Regions from separate parts of the Homo sapiens genome. Here region 1 is linked to region 2. The links are contacts of gene promoters, found by promoter capture Hi-C in blood cells and fetal thymus (Javierre and others, 2016). All regions are on one chromosome and are shown on one strand. Each heading gives the region's core, a stretch centred on a gene start or on the middle of the fragment in contact. The rest is flanking DNA. Distances are from core to core; before and after follow the strand shown. Region 1 has its middle 3.3 kb from the start of RPS6KA5. Region 2 holds the start of CCDC88C (coiled-coil domain containing 88C).

What was found. The method cuts DNA at HindIII sites, captures the fragments that hold promoters and counts their contacts. A CHiCAGO score of 5 or more calls a contact.
Region 1: a contact is called between a fragment that was not itself captured here and the fragment with the promoter of CCDC88C in region 2, in 3 of 17 cell types (non-activated CD4 T cells, activated CD4 T cells and naive CD8 T cells). The highest score is 7.6, in non-activated CD4 T cells.

What each region holds. Positions count from the first base shown.
Region 1 is chr14:91,060,822-91,067,143 of GRCh38, forward strand. It overlaps a transcript of DGLUCY not described here. Among named protein-coding and RNA genes, the nearest start is that of RPS6KA5, 3.3 kb to the left of the region's middle. RefSeq lists enhancers at 1-130, 2,545-2,694 and a silencer at 193-322. The HindIII fragment of the contact is 2,707 bases long and covers 752-3,458 here.
Region 2 is chr14:91,415,043-91,421,357 of GRCh38, forward strand. It overlaps CCDC88C (coiled-coil domain containing 88C), which reads right to left and starts at 2,778. Exons shown (of 30, transcript NM_001080414.4): 1 at 2,589-2,778; 2 at 1,696-1,796. The coding sequence starts at 2,648. It overlaps CCDC88C-DT (CCDC88C divergent transcript), which reads left to right and starts at 3,204. Exons shown (of 3, transcript NR_184261.1): 1 at 3,204-3,298; 2 at 5,907-6,081. It also overlaps the pseudogene LOC112268126. RefSeq lists enhancers at 704-833, 1,224-1,353, 1,364-1,653, 3,259-3,903, 4,144-4,193 and a silencer at 2,274-3,193. The HindIII fragment of the contact is 7,798 bases long and covers 1-5,651 here.

The DNA of each region.
Region 1 (6,322 bases), core at 855-3,354, 350 kb before region 2:
TCGAATTGTTGTTGCTTGGCGGGGAGGCAGGAGAGGGAGGAGCGCCGCCACTCCGATTGGTGAGACCCAAAGCTCTGCCCCGCCCATTTCCTCTGGTGCGCACTCGCAGTCAAGACCTTCCCTTCCCTGACCTCCCCAGAACGGTCACACCCCTTATTCCCCAGCTTCGATCTGTTAGTAAACAGTGTCTAGTAGTCAGGAGGCGCTCGGGGTCTCTGATTGGCTACTGCCGAAAGAGGCGGGGAGGGATGATTGGAACGTTTGGTCCGCCAATCACCGTGGACAGAGGAGGGGCCTGGAGGGTAGCGCTTATCACCCACGTGTTTGCAGACAAACCTAAGGGTCCCGGCAGCGATCCATGCGTGTGTGACAACCAGCGAGACGGCGTGCCCTAAAAAGGTCTTACTCGCTCTAGTGAACCCTAAACAAGTTAAGCAGAGTGTTTGTTCTTAAATAACAGATAGTTCTTAAACGTTACAAAAATTCACAGTCCCAGCTCCCGATGAGGAATTTTACGAAGGAGAGACATTTCTGTTTCGTACAAGACTCTTACTAGGCGCCGAAAGGATGCAGAGATTAACAAAATAGAATACAATTCCTCCCCTAAGCAGCTTTCAATAGAACGTGAGAAACAATCTGTGTGTGTACACAAAAGAACTATAAAGCAGAATTTGAAATAAAGCAGTCGTACAAAGCGTTAGAGAATCTCGCACGGATGGCAATAATTATTCCCAGACGAGGAACTGGGGAAAGCTTTTAGGGCAAGGAGGCATTTGAGATAACCAACGTAAAGGATGGATAAGAGAGAAATACCAGCAATAGACATTCCACACAGAGAGAGTAACTGTGAGCATTGGCCTACAGCAGAGAAGGCAAGGGTGGGTTAAGTGATTGATAAGGTTAGATGAAAGTATGATGTAAGAGATACAGCTGACAAGGTGAGGTGTGGTAAGATAATGGGGAACTAGGGATGCTGTGCTGAAGAGTGCAGATTTTTTTTAGTACACAGTGATGAACTGAAAAGAGGAGAGAGATAGCAGGGCAGGAATCCTGCTGCAAGGATAGAACTAAAGGGAACCTGATTTCTAGTAGCAGACACGAGAATGGGAAAAAGCAGAAACTTAAAGATGTACAGTTGGACGTAATTCAGATAGATGTGATCTTTTAAACTAAGCATGGATTGGATCAGGAGTCAGCACACTTTTTTCTATTAAGGGCCAGATAGTAAATATTTTAGGATTTGCAAGCTGTATGACCTTTTTCACAACTACTCAGCTCTGCCATTGTAGCGCAAAAGCAGTCATAGACAATAAATAAAAGAAGTAGCTGTGTTCCAATAGAATATTTTTTATGGACATTGAAATTTGAATTTCACATAGTTTTCATGTATCGTAATATATTCTTCTTTTAATTATTTTTGAATCACTTAAAAATATAAAAACAGGTCAGGCGCAGTGGTTCACACCTGTAAGCCCAGCACTGTGGGAGGCTGAGGCAGATGGATCACCTGAGGTCAGGAGTTCAAGACCAGCCTGGCCAACATGGCAAAACCCTGAATCTACTAAAAATACAAAAAATTAGCCAGGCATGGTGGTGGGCGCCTGTAATCCCAGCTACTCAGGAAGCTGAGGCAGGAGAATTGCTTGAATCTGGCAGGCGGAGGTTGCAGTAAGCCGAGATCACACCATTGCACTTCAGCCTGGGCAACAGAGCGAGACTCTGTCTAAAAAAAAAAAAATATATATATATATATATATATATATATATATATATATATATATATATATATAAACAATCCTTAGCTCAAGGGCAGTTAAAAAACAGGCAATGAGCCAGATTTGGCCTACAGGCCATAGTTTGCAGACTCCTGGATTCGACTGCTGTGAAAGACAAAACACAGAAGCCTTGCAAGTTCCTTCAGGTTGCTTTCACAGCTCCCTGGGCTTACCTGCCTGGAACATTTATCATCACACTAAACCATGACTGCCTACTTACTTGTCTTTCTCCTGCAAAAGTCATGTGCTATTTGGAGCCAGGCAATGACTGTGTGCAACTGTTCATTTGTTCACTCGAAAACTTTTATACCAGTTATATACCAAGTACTGTAATAGGTGCTAGAGACACAGTGGGAGCAAAACAGATGCAGTCCTTGCTCCTATAGAGCCTACAGTCTAGCAACAGATATAAATATTAATCACATAAAGAAATATAAACTTTCCATTGTGATCATGCTGTAAAGGAAAATTACAGGGTGCTACAATAGAATGTATCAGGGATGCCTAATTTAAGTTGGAGGAGCTGGAAGACCTTTGTAAGTAAGTATTATTTAAGCTGAGACTTTAAAAATGAGTAGGTTTTAACCAGGATGTGGCAAAAAGTAGCCTGATGTTCACCAATCTCATTTCCTCTTCCTAGACACACAGGAAGACTTTTTTTTTTTTTTTCTTACCTCCTTTGCAGTTAGGTTAGGGTCATATGACTATGATCTGGCCAATGGGGTATGGGCAGATCCTATTGGTATGATATATAACATTTTCAGGCCTGACCAGAAAACTCCTTGCATAATCACTCACACTCTTCTCTTTCAACTGCTGTAACAAAGGCCACATTTTTAATGTGGGTATGCCACAGACTGGGAGGACTCTGAACCCCTGAGTTTCCACTTAATTCTTTAAGGAGCCACCTGACCTATGTCAGACTGTGATGTGAGCAATACATACACCGTTTTAGGCATAAGCTAGTTAGATGGGATTATTTGCTACCAAAGCATAATCTAGCCTTATACTACTTCATATGTGTAATATGGAGGGATCAAAATTTTAGGAAGATGTCCTGAGGCAGGCAAAGAGCCTATTCGGTTGAGAGATTGAGAAAGGCAGTGGAGCCTTAATGCAGTAAGCAAGGGATGAGGTTCAGGAGGTGGGCAGAGGCCCGGTCAGGAAGTATGTGGTTGCTCTTATTAATATTTTTGGACTTTATCCTGTGTGAAGTGGGAAGCAGTAGAAGGAATTTAAACACAGGAATGATATAATCGTGGTAGTATTTTCAGAAGGTCACTGAAGTTAGTGTTTGGAGACTGCGCTGGAGAAGGCAAAATGGGATACAAGGAGACCAGTTAGGAGGCTATCACTGTAATCTGGGCAAAAGATGAGAGTGGGTGCAGTAGAGATGGAGAGAAATGGAACATTTCTATGTTTATATTTTGAACTTGAAGGATTAGACTTGGTTAGTGAGAAAAATGGAAATATCTGAAATGACACCAGTGTTTCTAGCGTGAGCAGCTAGTGGCTGGAAGAGGATGGCAGTACCATTTAATAATGAAAGGGACAAATTAAAGGAAGAGCACATATGAGAGAGAACATCAAGAGTTTAATTTTGAGACATCCAGGGCCAAAATTAAGTAGCTATGTGGATATATGAGTCTAGAGCTCTGAAGAGAGGTCTAGCATAGGGATGTAAGCTTAGGAATCACTGGCACATAGATGACATTTGAGGCCAGAGGTACGAATGAGATTACCTAGGGAGAAGCCTGGGTGCGGTGGATCATGCCTGTAATCTCAGCACTTTGGGACGCTGAGATGGGCAGATCGCTTGAATTCAAGACCAGCCTGGTCAACAAGGTGAAACCCTATCTCTACTAAAAATACAAAAATTAGCTGGGCATGGTGGTGCATGCCTATAATCCAAGCTACTCGGGAGGCTGAGGCAGGAAAATCACTGGAACCCAGGAGGCAGAGGTTGCAGTGAGCTGAGATCGCATCACTGCACTCCAGCCTGGGTGACACAGTCAGACTCTGTCTCAAAAAAAAAAAAAAAAAAAAAGAAAAGAAAAGTTGGAATAAGAAGGTGGAGCTAGAGGTAGAAAAGGAAAACCTGGAGAGTTTTGTATCTTGGAAGCCAAAGTATTTCCAGAAGAAGGGAATGGTCAGCTGTATCAGATACCCTAAGATGTCATATAACATGAGGTCTAGAAAGATCCACTGAATTTGTCAACTTGGGTACCACTGATGACAATATCCAGAGCAGTTTTGGCAAGGCAAATGGAAGGTGAGGAAGTAGTAACCATGTGTGGGGACATATTTTTCTCCAAAGGAAAATAGAGAACAAAGATCCTAGCTGGAGGGATCCAGGGAGTTTTTCGGTTTTTTGGCTTTTAATCTTATTTTCAAATAATTTTAAAATTGCAGAAGAGTTGCAAAACTTAGTAAACTTAGTAAAGCAGAAGCACGCCATATGATCACTTAAATGTGCACACATGTAGGAAGAGTTTCTTCCACAGACTTAAGCACTGTGCTGAGTGATAGGAGGGAGGGGAGGGCATGGGTTAGGGATCTGAGGAGAGTGGAAACAGGTTGGAACAGCCACTATGAGAAATAGATCTATCCAGGCAGCTTGTATAAACGCTGATTAGCACAGGGCTCCAGTGGAGTTAGAAAGCCTGAATCAGGATAGTGAAGTGTCTTTCTCTAGCAACTTACATATCCCCTCTGGGTGGGAGATGAGCGGTTGGGCAACAACCTGGTTAAAGTGAATGACCCTGGGGCCTAAGCTGGGTGAGAAGGCAATGAAGCCAGGATAAGCTGCTAGCCTGGAAGAATAGGATGGAGTCCAAGGAGTTGGCGCTAGTATGGATGAGTTCTCAACCTTGGCTGAACATCGGGATCACCTGGGATACTGAAAAATAACAACAAAACAAAACAAAAATCTCCACCACTCCTACCCCTAAAGAATGTGACTTAAATTGGTCTGGGGTTGGGCCTGGACTTTGGGATTTTTTTTAAAGCTCCCCACATCATTAACCTAATGTACAACCAAGTTTGTAATGCACAACTCTTGCACAACTATTAGAGCAGACAGTGGTAAATAAGAGCAAATTGGAGTTTTGGAAAAAACAGCAACTTTTCAGAGGTAGTGATGACACTAGAGAAAATAGGAGGGAAAATTATAAATGAGTAGCTGAAAACACCAAATTAAATGGGTGCGGGGCTTGAGTGATTAGTGATGTGACCAGACAGCTTGGAGTCAAATGAGGAAAAGTTGTTGAACTGGGGTGAGATAATGGACTATGGCCTGGAGGATGCAGCAGCTGGAAGTGAGGAAAAAGTCACTGCTCCCTCCTGCCCTGAGAGATGGAGAAGTAGAGAGGGTGGGGTCCGTGAAAAGGCTGAGACAGAGAGGTTGTCCAGCAAAAGGTCAGATTTCTGCTATGGCCAGAAGAGTAATCAAGAAAAGACCTTGAAAATATGTTTCTTCCTCTCAGAAACTGACTTTATCCACTGGGCGTGGTGGCTCACGCCTGTAATCCCAGCACTTTGGGAGGCCAAGGCAGGAGGATCACCTGAGGTCAGGAGTTTGAGACCAGCCTGGCCAACATGGTGAAACCCTGTCTCTACTAAAAATAGAAAAATTAGCCGGGCCTGGTGGCACATGCCTGTAATCCCAGCCACCAGGGAGGCTGAGGCAGGAGAATCACTTGAACCCGGGAGGCAGAGGTTGCAGTGAGCTGAGATTGCGCCATTGCACTCCAGGCTGGGTACCAGAGTGAAACCCCATCTGAAAAAAAAAAGAAAAAAAAAAAAAAAAAGAAGGAAAGAAAAGAAACTGACTTTATCCAGGCTGGCTTGGTACCTGCTGCCAGAACGGGGTCCGTGCTCACCCCCTTTTGTTGTAAGCCTATGTCTGTGGCACCATTCTATGTGGTCTCACCTATCCTTAGCTTTATACCTCTTCACTGAGAAGCGGAGAGGATCACTTGAGCCCAGGAGTTCTTGAATCCAGCCCGGGCACATAGCATGACCCCATCTCTAAACCAAAGGAAAAAGAAAAACCACTATCACTTGCCATAAACAGGAAGCAGGAAGTAAATATTAAAATAAATACAATGAAAACAAAATGATAGTAAGTTCTAGCTAGATACAGTTGTCTGCTGGTAGCTGAGTCTGAGGTCTATACTTTCCTTGCTAGAAAGAGTTATTTCGGCCGGGCGCGGTGGCTCACGCCTGTAATCCCAGCACTCTGGGAGGCCGAGGCGGGTGGATCACGAGGTCAGGAGATCGAGACCATCCTGGCTAACACGGTGAAACCCCGTCTCTACTAAAAAAAAAAAAAAATTAGCCGTGCATGGTGGCGGGCGCCAGTAGTCCCAGCTACTTGGGAGGCTGAGACAGCAGAATGGTGTGAACCTGGGAGGTGGAGCTTGCAGTGAGCCCAGATTGCACCACTGCACTCCAGCCTGGGTGACAGAGCGAGACTCCATCTCAAAAAAAAAAAAAAAAAAAGAAAGAGTTATTTCATGTTGAGTAGATTGAGGAAGAACAAAAAA
Region 2 (6,315 bases), core at 1,528-4,027:
CCTCTGCCTGGGTGTAGGAGCTGAATGAAAAGGCTGGGGATACTGCTGGTTTTTTTAATTAAACAGTCTTGGGCTTGGGTAAGGACAGGTTGAAGTTTCACCGGTCATTGCGCCAATGGAATCCAGTAATTTTCAGGGTCTAACAGAATGAGGGGAGAGTGGCCAGAACTCGAATATGCCACGAGACAGCTTCCGGAAAACTCAGTTTCAACAAAGTTATCTAAGAAGTGCTGTCAAAGCTGGCAACAGATTTATGTTTTTCAATCTAATCAGACACTGAAGACTGGTAAGATTGGTAGTGACTTTTTTTCCTACACCCACAGCTGTGAACTTTAAAAAAAAAAAAGCAAAAACCATTAAACAGCATGACATCAAATGACTTATTAAAATAAAAGGAGGCCGGGCACCACAGTGGCTCATGCCTGTAATCCCAGCACTTTGGGAGGCCAAGGCAGGCGGATCACCTGAGGTCGGGAGTTCGAGACCAGCCTAACATGGAGAAACCCCATTTCTACTAAAAATACAAAATTAGCCGGGCGTGGTGGCGCATGCCTGCAATCCCAGCTACTCGGGAGGCTGAGGTAGGATAATCGCTTGAACCCGGGAGGCGGAGGTTGTGGTGAGCTGAGATCACGCCATTGCACTCCAGCCTGGGCAACAAGAGCGAAACTCCGTCTCCAAAAAAAAAAAAAGCAAGGTTCTTGAATTATTTTTTTCTAAACAGGCTGTTTAAGGCAATCTATATAAGCCACTTTCTGGATATGCCAAAGCAAACTGCTCCTCTGCCTTTGTGAGCCACAAACGAAGCTGATCTCTCATTAGCTAATAGATTTATGCTCCAGTATGACAACTTGCTCAGTCGTAGGTGAATAGGTGCGCACACGAGGCTGATCCACAGAGAACATTAGGATGTTTTATTTTGCTTCAAGTGCCTGTGAATCATCCCGACACTCAGTTCCAATGTTCCCTGCAGTTTGAGTTAAAAACAGAATGCAAAGGTAGAAGCCAACACCTACGTTGTGGCAAGCTGTCAATCAGGCCGTGCAGAGCTCAGCAACAGGAAAGGATGTGGTCAGATGTACTCGCTGGCAAGAGTAACTTCTACTAAGACCCTGTTCAGGCTGCATGCTTCCAAACAAACAGCACCATGGGACCCTCCTAACACTGTGACTTTAAACTCAGTCCATACAGTAGGACTTAATGAATTGCACTTGCTTTGGGGCAACTGAAAAAGGAAGATGAAATGTAAAGGAGCTCAGAAACACAGACACCCTCATCTAAAATGAAACTTTACAGTAACCCTCGGATGCCTGGGCCCACCCCGACACTTCCTGTAACCAGACACTCTCCGTTACAGTTCCTTGCCCTCCAAAAGGGGACTTTTTCATTTCATTGCTCAAACCACAATTAAGTCCTTGAGTCTGAAGTCAATTGCACTATCTACACCACGTAAATGACAGTCATTCAATTCCAAATTTCCTTCATCAAACCAACTGCCAGACCCACTGTCCTGGAGTTCTTCAAACACCTACGAATGTCCAACAGGCACGTTAATACTGAGATACCAGCGTCTCCACCTTCAGAGAACTACCCCCCACCCCACACACACCCCGCCATGCAACCTTCCACTCCATTTCTACTCTCAAACTTTCTAACGCACCATTCTTTCCTTCCTCCGAGAAGAAGGTAACTTACATTTGCAGCATAATTTGGTTCAAAAAGATGCCGTCCACTAAATCCATGTACATAGTCAGGTTGTCCTGGCTGCCGCTTCCAAACGGGCCAAAAGTTTTCACCTGCGGGGAGGGGGACGAGGAGAGAAAGACAGGAAGTCACCCCGTGCGCACAAACGGTCCAAAGCTCTCCCAGGCAGAGACTGGACGGGTCAGTGTGAGCAGAAGGGGGTCACCCACGCCCACACCACCCTTCAGCAGGCACCAAGCCCGGCCTTCTCCTAGGGCCTGTCTCCCCTCCCCGCGCGGGGCAACAGACACGAGACAGGAGGAAAAACTTCCTCGCCACTTTTCTCCCGCGTTCCAGAGCGGAAGAAATAAAAATAAAAAGGACTTTTCAATAAATGTCTCACGTCTCAAATCCATTGTAAATCAGTGCGCCCACCCCAGTCTGTTCGCTTTCCCATTCGGCGCCCCCCATTCCCCACCCGTCACCGCCATCCACCGGCTGGTCTCAGGGATTCAGAAAAACTACATGAGATATTTGGTTGGGAAGAATGGGGTCCTTTTCGGGAGTGGCTAAACCCCAGGGACAGGAGTGACCACTGGGACCCGGTCCGCCCCGAGGCAGCCAGCCTAGAGCCCCAGCGGGAACAGGTGTACCCGCCCGGCTCCTGGCCCGGCCGAAAGCGCGGCGGGGTCCCGCGCCGGACGCACAACGGGGGCGCCGGCTCCAGAGTTACAAAGCTCCGGACTCCAGGACGCGGCCCCAACCCCGGCCGGGAGCCACTTGCTGCGTCCCTCGCGCCCCGGAGCCACCCGGGGCCCCGGCCGTGTCGGGTCTGCGGCGTCCCGTCGCCGGGCTAGAGAGAAGCCGGTGCACCAACAAAGGGGCGGGGAGCCAGGCGCACTCACCCAGGTCACCAGCGGGCTCTGCAGGAAGAGCTCCAGGAGCTCCGAGACTGTCACGTCCATGCTGAGGCTGCGCCCGCCGGCTCCGCGCCCCCCGCCCCGCGTCCCCGTTCCCCCGCGCCGCGGCACAAAACGGCTCCGCAGCGAGCAGCGGGCGCGGGGCTGCGGCGGCTCGCGCCCGGGAGACAAAGGCGGGGCGCGCGAGCCCACGTTCCGCGGCTTCGGCGGCCCCGCGCCCCGCCCGGGTCTGGGGGAAGGGGAGGGCCAGCCGCTCGGGGAGGAACAATACGGGCGGCCCCGCCCCTCGGCGGCCCTGGGCGACCGGCGCGCCGCCTCGCGGTGCCAGCCCGGGAGCCCGGGAGCCCGGGCGCGGGACCAGGCTACGCGGGGCGCTGGGAGGGGACTGGTGGCCCGAGGCGGGTGGGTCGCGGGGCCCGGCTCCCCGCCCGTGGGACCGCGCGCCCTCGCCGAGCGCAGCCTCCCCGCGTGTGGGGCCCCAGCACGTGGCGCATCCCTGCGCGCGTGCGCGTGCAGCCGGGGCCCGAGCGCCACGTGCGAGCTGGGGTGCGCGGGCACTGGTGCGTGCCGGGAGCGGGGACGCCCTGCCCTCCGAGGTTGCTCTGCCCTCCGAGGTCGCCCGCAGCTGCCGCCCGCTCTGGGCTTGGGGACCTCGGCCCTGCGCCTTTCCGCACTCCTGGCAGGTGCAGCCCCAGGTACAGTCAAGAGGCCCCGCAAACCCCCGCTCCTCACGCTTGTGCGCGGCGCGATAAACGCGCCCCGACCCTGGGGCTGGGCTGGAGGGCAAAGAAGAAACTTTATGTTGAGTTTAGGCCTTAGGGGCGCGGCCCCTCGCGCCCTACCGTGCCCCACCGTGCCATGTTCCGGGCTGCCTGCCTTCTAAAAGTTCCTGCAGGAAGCAGGTGATGTGGCCTCCCCGACCCGGGCCCGCCCCCACCACTTTGCCGGAGGCGAGCTAAATTCCAGCCGGGGTTCCTAGCAGCAGCTTAGTGGCAGGCGACAGGAAAAAGGGCAAAGGCCCCAACTGGCTGGAAGGCAAGCCCGGGGGCAGGACCTCCTTGCGGGACGGCACGAGGCAGGAGCCGGCTCCAGGCTGGTCTCGGCCTGGTAATAATTTCACACCACCAGCCGGTCATTGTTCAAAGCACTGTAGACCATTTTACTAATTTAACCCTAACGATCGCCGCATTTCGCAGCTGGGCCAACTGGTACAGGGTTGACCCGAAGGGCCCTGCGTGGCGCTTGGCAAGTATACAGCAGGCACTAAATGGCTGCCGACAGGCTCGGTGGTAATTTTGAAAGTTGGCTCTGTGCAGCGTTGGGGCTGCGGCATCTGCTGGTGGCGAGTGGTATTACAGCCCAGCGCTGGCGGACCCCGTTGGGCTGGGGAGGGTTGTGAGATTATGGCCTGAGAGCCAAGGGGGTCGGTTAGGGGTCCCTAGAGACTGTGGAAGGCGGGGTAGCATAAAACACAATGGGGGACTGCGGAGGAACTAAAATTTCGAGACTACATGGTTTTGTTGTGCACCAGAAGTTCATTAGAGAAGTTCCTTAATTGCTTCTCCGCCCGCCGCGATGGCACTCGACCCCGCGGATTAATTTAACAACTCTGATGGTTGCTCTGTGAAATTTAAAGAACAGTGGTTTAAGCAAAGACCACAAGAAAGAAGAATTGAGATCAAAGAGGAGTGTGTGCCATCGCTGTGGAGGAGTTTCAGTTGTGAATCATGAAATGTCCTGTAAACCATTTCAAGGAGTTTGATTTTTATACCAAAAACAATGGGAAGACACTACAGGTTTTTGGAGCAGCAGCTCAGACGTGTCGAAAAAGATGTTTTGATCCCTAAAATAATGAGAGAAAAGGCCAGAGAGAGGTCTTCTGACAAGTTCAAGATTTTACCAAATGTTGCAAGAACTCTGGAATCCTTATGGTAGTAAAATGCTGGAAAGAAAATTCTGCATTGAAAGAATGTCTTAACAGCTCACTATAATGACCCAGCCTTTTATGAATAATGCAAAGTGGAAAACCTGAAGGAAAAGGAAGAATTCAGAAAAACTGGAATTTCTACAAAGAAAAGTCTACAGAAGCTGCCCACAAGTGTGTAGACAAATATTCAGATGACATTCAGGATCTCTAATACTCATGGAAGTCGTTTATAGAATAAACCTTAAATAATGGACTCAAGAATGTGTGTTTGCTAATTATGTGTGTATCCTAATTATGGAAATATTAATTTTATCTGAAATAAAAATCTTTTTTTCTTTTCTCTTTTTTTTTTTTTTTTTTTTTTTTGAGACAACAGAGTCTCACTCTGTTGCCCAGGCTGGAGTGCAGTGGCGTGCTCTCTGCTCACTGCAACTCCGCCTCCCGGGTTCGCGCCATTCTCCTGCCTCAGCCTCCAGAGTAGTTGGGACTGCAGGCGCCCACCACCACGCCCGGCTAATTTTTTGTATTTTTTACTAGAGACGGGGTTTCACCGTGTTAGCCAGGATGGTCTCTATCTCCTGACCTCGTGATCCGCCTGCCTCGGCCTCCCAAAGTGCTGGGATTACAGGCGTGAGCCACCGCGCCCGGCTAAAAATCTTTTATTTAAAAAAGTTCCTTAATTGCTCATAATGTAAGTTAGTTCAAAAATAGGTATGATGTGTACACACACCGCTCTTCGCTCGGAAGCCTCTCTTCTGAAAAGTAAGGGATGCAGATGCGGCCAAAGTTGTTTTTCCAATTTTTTTGGAAAGACAAGGATGAGGAATCTTTAAAGTTATTTATTGAGGCCGGGTGCAGTGCCTCACACCTGTAATCCCAGCACTTTGGGAGGCCTAAGTAGGTGGATCACTTCAGCCCAAGAGTTCAAGACCAGCCTGGCCAAAAAAAATAGAAAAATTAGCTGGGTGTGGTGGTGCACACCTGTGATCCCAGCTACTCTGGAGGCTGAGAATCACTCGAACCCGGGAGGGGAAGGTTGCAGTGAGCTGCTATTGCACCATTGCACTCCAGCCTGGGTGACAGAGCAAGACTCTGTCTCAAAAAAAAAAATTTATTGAGTAAGCTTATTCTTTCACACTAAGAAATACAGTGGACAAATGCCTTCTGACAGTTGTGAGACTTTTCCCATCCTGGTGAGGGAATTTTCCCCTGGGGACATTGACAAGGCCCTGGGCCACAGCCATGTCAGGAATGTTTGCTTTGGGGTCAGTTAGCTGCTGTGTTGGTTCATAATCATTGATGTATCTGCTACCATGCCTTGGCTTGACTACGCCACCAGGATTAAAAGGATCTAACTCAGCTCCCTTGTTCCCTAGGAGGCAATGGGGCAGGCAAACTGGATGGTGCCCCAGGTGTAGCAAGCTTGGAAGGCTTCAAAGGACGGGACAAGTTTGGCCTGGACAAGTTTCCTCCTAGAAGTCACTTAATCTGCAAAATCAAGATAAGACCATTTTCCCCATGTGACTTGACAAGACAATATTAAAGCTCAAGGTGATGCATGTAAAAAGATTGTGGAAGCCATAAAGCTTTATAGAGATACATAATCACTGTCTCTTCCTCATCTCCTGCCCCATTCTGCTACCCTTGCTTTAATAAAAATTGTTTCCCCGAAGTCTCCGTCGGGCTGGGGCATAAGCTTCAAGGAGCAAATGCACAGACCCTCCACTGACCACTACACAGAGAGTCCCAATGCCCCTCCTCCATCCTTCCAGAACACCCTTGGCT